Regions from separate parts of the Homo sapiens genome. Here region 1 is linked to region 2. The links are contacts of gene promoters, found by promoter capture Hi-C in human tissues and cell types (Jung and others, 2019). All regions are on one chromosome and are shown on one strand. The core of a region is centred on a gene start or on the middle of the fragment in contact, and the rest is flanking DNA. Distances in the headings are between cores, read along the strand shown. Region 1 overlaps ATP2A2 (ATPase sarcoplasmic/endoplasmic reticulum Ca2+ transporting 2). Region 2 holds the start of VPS29 (VPS29 retromer complex component).

Region 1 (2,793 bases), core at 61-2,560, 210 kb after region 2:
ATGTAGCTTTTAAAGTTTGTCACAGGAAGCAACTAGGAGACATAAAGATAATGGTTCTCACATTCTCATTTCCTTAAGCAGCTTCTCTCACCCATTTTAATTCCTTGCTACCGTAAAGAATGAACAATGTTTTTCTGAGACAGTGTTGCTCCTTTGCCCAGACTGGAGTGCAGTGTTACGATCATGGCTCACTACAGTCTTGACCTCCTGGGTTCAAGCAACCCTCCCACCTCAGCCTCCTGAGTAGCTGAGACTACAGGCTGGTGCCACCACACTTGGCGAAGAATGAGCAATCTTAACTGCAAAGTTTATATGCATTAAGGTCAAAAATTTGCAATTAATTAAATTAATAGGCCGGGCATGGTGGCTCACGTCTGTAATCCCAGCACTTTGGGAGGCTGAGGAGGGCGGATCACTTGAGGTCAGGAGCTCAAGACCAGCCTGGCCAACATGGTGAAACCCTGTCTCTTACCAAAAAATACAAAAATGAGCTGGGCGTGGTGGTGCGTGCCTGTAGTCCCAGCTACTTGGGAGGCTGAGGCACGAGAACCACTTGAACCTGGGAGGAAGAGGTTGCAGTGAGCCGAGACAACACCATTGCACTCCAGCCTGGGCAACAGAGTGAGACTGTGTCAGAAAACAATTAATTTATGGAATAAAGGGAAAATACATGTAAACTTCCCGCAAACATATTTTTACTCAACACATCAGGAAAAACAGATAACAGAAAGATTAATACAGCCCTAATCACTTACATAACTTATTGAAATTTTGCAGTACAGGAATTTTTGCTTACCTGCCATACACCCACAATTGCATTGGCTACTAATATGAGTAAAATTACAAAAGGTTCTACAAAGGCTGTAATTGTTTCTTCACCTTCTTCAAACCAAGCCAAAACCTAGAAGAGAAATGGCACGTTAGAATGTGTCTTTTTAGGCTTAATGTCACTTTTTTAAAAAGTGGCTAGCACTGGCCGAGCATGGTGGCTCAGGCCTGTAATCCCAGCACTTTGGGAGGCCAAGGCAGGCGATCACCTGAGGTCAAGAGTTCCAGACCAACCTGCCCAACATGGCGAAACCCCATCTCTACTAAAAATACAAAAAATTAGCTGGACATGGTGGTAGGTGCCTGTAATCCCAGCTACTCAGGAGGCTGAGGCAAGAGAATCACTTGAACCTGGGGAGGCAAAGGTTGCAGTGAGCCGTGAGTGTACTGCATGCCATTGCACTCCAGCCTGGGCAGCAAGAGCGAAAACTCAAAAAAAAAAAAAAAAAAAAGTGGCTAGCACTAAAGGGATTATGATAGACAAAATCTATTTTCTTTCTCTAGAAATAAACGGTAGAAAATGCAATTATATAAACAACTGGCTATGTCTTGTTCATAAGAATTCTTGAAAGTCAAAACTATACTTCAGCTGGGCACAGTGGCTCACACCTGTAATCCCAACACTTTGGGAGGCTGAGGCGGGCAGATCACCTGAGGTCAGGAGTTCCAGACCAGCCTGGCCGACATGGCGAAACCCCGTCTCTACTAAAAATACAAAAAAATTACCTGGGCATGGTGATGTGTGTCAGTAATCCCACCTACTGGGGAGGCTGAGGCAAGAGAATCACTTGTACCTAGGAGGCGGAGGTGGCAGTGAGCCGAGATCGTGCCACTGCACTCCAGCCTGGGCAACAGAGCAAGACTCGGTCTCAAAACAAAAAAAAAAGCCGGGTGCGATGGCTCACGCCTGTAATTCCAGCACTTTGGGAGGCCAAGGCGGGGGGATCACCTGAGGTCTGGAGCTCGAGACCAGCCTGACCAACACGAAGAAACCCTATCTCTACTAAAATTACAAAATTAGCAGTGTGTGGTGGTGCATGCCTGTAATCCCAGCTACTCAGGAGGCTGAGGCAGGAGAATCGCTTGAACCCGGGAGGCAGAGGTTGCGGTGAGCCAAGATCGCACCATTGCACTCCAGCCTGGGCAACAAAAGCAAAACTCAAAAAACAAACAAAAAACTATACTTCATGGCTGGGTGTGGTGGTTCAAGTCTGTAATCCCAGCACTTTGGGAGGCCGAGACAGGTAGATCGCCTGAGGTCAGGAATTCGAGACCACCCTGGCCAACAAGGTGAAACCACCTCTACTAGAAACACAAAAAATTAGCCAGGTGTGGTGGCGCACACCTGCAGTCCTAGCTAGTTGGGAAGCTGAGGCAGGAGAATCGCTTGAACCTGGGAGGCAAAGGTTGCAGTGAGCTGAGATCGCACCACTGCACACCAGCCTGGGCGTTAGAGCAAGACTCAGTCTCAAAAAAACAACTATACTTCTTAAAAATACCTTATCTTTTGATGTAATAATTCCATTTTAGAATCCAAATAAAATCTGGGGAGAGGGAATAAATTCCATTCATTTTATATGTATCTATTTAGAAAAAATAAAACTTCAATTCTTGATTAAAGTAAAAGGTGATCATCTAACAGTCATGTTCATTTAGTTATTATTCATATCAAGTAATATCCATGTGACATAAATCCACAGTATAAACAACTTGATCACTGACTTAAATTTTAGAGCATATATAAACTGTTTAATTCTAGGCCGGGAACAGTGGCTCATGCCTATAATCCCGGCACTTTGGGAGGCCAAGGCAGGAGGATCATTTCATGCCAGGAGCTTGAGACCAGCCTGGGCAACATAGCGAGACCCTCATCTCTATAAAAGAAACAAAAAACCAGTTAATTCCCCGTTTCTTTTCAGTGGTACTACTGAAGGCTGTTTCAGAACCGCAAAGCTGTTGGGAGAT
Region 2 (2,806 bases), core at 54-2,553:
GCCAAGTCACAACAAGTCATGAGAGAGAAATTAGGGGTATCCAACATACATCTCTGATGTTTGAGGGCAGCCAGATTTCCCCACCACAGAACACATTTAGGGCTGGAAAACACACTAGTCTGATCCCGTACGACATTGTTAATGTTCTTTTTATTTTTTATTTTTTTTGAGACAGAGTCTCACTCTGACACTCAGGCTGGAGTGCAGTGGCACGAGCTCAACTCACTGCAGCCTCAACCTCCCGGGCTCAATCGATCCTCTCGCCTCAGCCTTCCAAGTAGCTTGGGATTACAGGCGCCCACCACTAAGCCCGGCTAATTTTTGTATGTTTAGTAGAGACGGGGTTTCATCATGTTGGTCAGGGTGGTCTCGAACTCCCGACCTAAGGTGATCCACCCGCCTTGGCCTCCCAAAGTGCTAGGATTACAGGCGTGAGCCACTGCACCCGGCCTAACTTCCATTTTGAAAGCGCCGTTTACAACACTAATAGTTCTTGTACATTCCATCTATTACTGGGCTCTTTACACGCATTTCCATTTCATTGCCTCCAAACAAACTCTGTGACGAAGGTGCTGTCATTACCCCTGTTTCCGTTTTAGAAACTGAGCCCCAAAGAGATTTAGTGACTTTTCCAAGTTCATACATTTTTAAAAATGGTAGAATCTGGGGAAAAAAAAAACCAGGTTAATGCTGTTCTCTTGGCACAAAAATACTTTTACTGTCCAAGCATTATTTTTTTCTCTCAACTCTTCCCCATGCAGTCCTCAGCATCCCGAGTTTGTGGCCCGATGGTACAACTCTATTTCCCGGATACCACCCATATTACATCTGCCTCTAAGTCACACGAGATGGGTCCTCATCCTCCCCTCAGAAGTTAACAGGGACTTGAGTGGGTGGGGCTGTGGCCAGGGCGTGCGTCCTCAGTCATTGCGCAAAAAGGCAAAGAGGAAAAATTAGACAATGGTAGGGACGACCTATTAACGTCTGCTTTTCTCTCTGCTAAATGGGAAGACAACAAAGGCCGCTCCACCTTTCACCTGACTGCCGCTCATCACGCACTTCAGCATGGCTGCCATCCGCCCTAAAAAGCAGGCTCGGAAGGCGCGCCTCAGCTCGACGGCCCAGGTGCCCGGATGTTGCCCGCGCTTTTCAAAGCTTCGCGATCTCGTCTCTGCACTCTACCACCCCGCCTCCACAAGTTCCCAAACGGCTTTACGGCGGAGAAGGGTCCGTGCGGGCCTCCGTACGGCAATTTCTGTCTCCCTCTGCTCTCATTGGTTGCGGTTAAGTGGGCGGGTCGCCGAGGAGCCTGAGGAAGAGGGCGGCGACGGTGGTGGTGACTGAGCGGAGCCCGGTGACAGGATGGTGAGGGCTGCAGTTGCGGCGACCAAGGCCTGGCTCTCGGGTGGGGTGCTGCGTTGTTGGGAGCCGTGGGGAGGCCGAGGGCGAGGAATTGGGAAATCCCGGAGGCCTCGGCGTCAGGGCCCAGGCGCTGGCCTGGGAAAGGCCCAGAAGAGGTCTAGGGAAGGAAGGGAGCGGCCACCTCTGGGTGCGGCTGGCCTAGGTCTCGTATCCCGGCCCCAAGGGGCCAGAGGCCATCCAAGGGGTAAAAAGGCCCCTCTAGCAGCCCGACCTGTCACGAGACACGCACGCCCGAGCCAGGGAAGGCCTTTGGTCCTATACCTCGAATGTTCCGGGGATAGGGGCACGGTCCTCCGTTTCCAGACGGTTCCTACTCGTTTCCCGCAAAAAGCACCTCCCGCTGGTTGGGGTGTAGTGGTGGAAGCTGGCCTCTCGAATGCAGAACAGGAAGTAGCGAGCAGAATTTCGTACCCGTTTAACTTTGCCATCTAGGGAAAGGGAATAAACCACCCTCCTCGCTCCTGAAATAACATCTAGCTGCCATTGAGATGAGCAGGTGTGCTCTCAGAGGGCGGGATTTGGCGCTTGCAATTGCTGGAACTGTTTCTTTCCACGGGTTGCTACGCCTCTTTAGGGTAGGATTCCTTAATGATGTGTGAACTCATTGAAACTGTTGGGAAATTTTTGTGAATATACACATTTTTCTGGGGAGAGTGCCGGTGTTGGAGACTTACCTAGTCTCCCCCAGCCACCTTCAAGCAATCACCCCTTCACCCCCAGTAGTTTGGTGCCCCTCAGACCTTCCTACATAAAAACTGGGGGCCTCTACTAGAGAGGACTCAGAGCTGTAATCATATTTTCTTTCTTTCTTTTTGAGATGGAGTCTCGCTCTGTCGCCCAGGCTGGAGTGCAATGCCGCGATCTCGGCTCACTGCAATGCCGCCCGGGTTCAAGCCTCAGCTCCTGCCTCAGCCTCCCGAGTAGCTGGGATTACAGGCGCCCGCCACCAAGCCCGTCTAAATTTTTGTATTTTTAGTAGAGACGGGGTTTCACCATGTTGGTCAGGCTGGTCTCTACCTCCCGACCTCAGATGATCCACCCGCCTCGGCCTCCCAAAGTGCTGGGGTTACAGGCGTGAGCCACCGCGCCCGGCCTGTAATCATATTTTCAAAGGTGCCTTTGACTCTTAAAAAGTCAATTGTTTGGGGCAACCCACTCGGGTCCCCTTCCACCCTGTGTAAGCTTTGTTCTTTCGCTCTTCACAATAAATCTTGCTGCTGCTCAAAAAAAAAAAAAAAATCAATTGTTTGAAATGGAGCTGTGATTATCTTCATATTTGTGTTGATGGAGGTTGGCTGTAAAGGGACGTCTACCTCTGACAGGCATTTATTGCATTCTTTTTTATTTTTACAAGGAAACCAAAGAAGCTATGCATTTTTAAGAT

What was found. Contacts are between HindIII fragments. The study calls those that stand out against the background at their distance.
Region 1: a fragment that was not itself captured here is called in contact with the fragment with the promoter of VPS29 in region 2 in 1 of the 25 tissues and cell types used here (hippocampus).

What each region holds. Positions count from the first base shown.
Region 1 is chr12:110,290,128-110,292,920 of GRCh38, reverse strand. ATP2A2 (ATPase sarcoplasmic/endoplasmic reticulum Ca2+ transporting 2) reads right to left here. Exons shown (of 20, transcript NM_170665.4): 4 at 797-901. Among named protein-coding and RNA genes, the nearest start is that of ATP2A2, 10 kb to the right of the region's middle. The HindIII fragment of the contact is 6,416 bases long and covers 1-2,793 here.
Region 2 is chr12:110,500,608-110,503,413 of GRCh38, reverse strand. It overlaps VPS29 (VPS29 retromer complex component), which reads left to right and starts at 1,303. Exons shown (of 4, transcript NM_016226.5): 1 at 1,303-1,365. The coding sequence starts at 1,363. RAD9B (RAD9 checkpoint clamp component B) reads right to left here and starts at 1,083. Exons shown (of 11, transcript NM_001286535.2): 1 at 1,031-1,083. The coding sequence starts at 1,076. RefSeq lists an enhancer at 1,335-1,474. The HindIII fragment of the contact is 3,487 bases long and covers 258-2,806 here.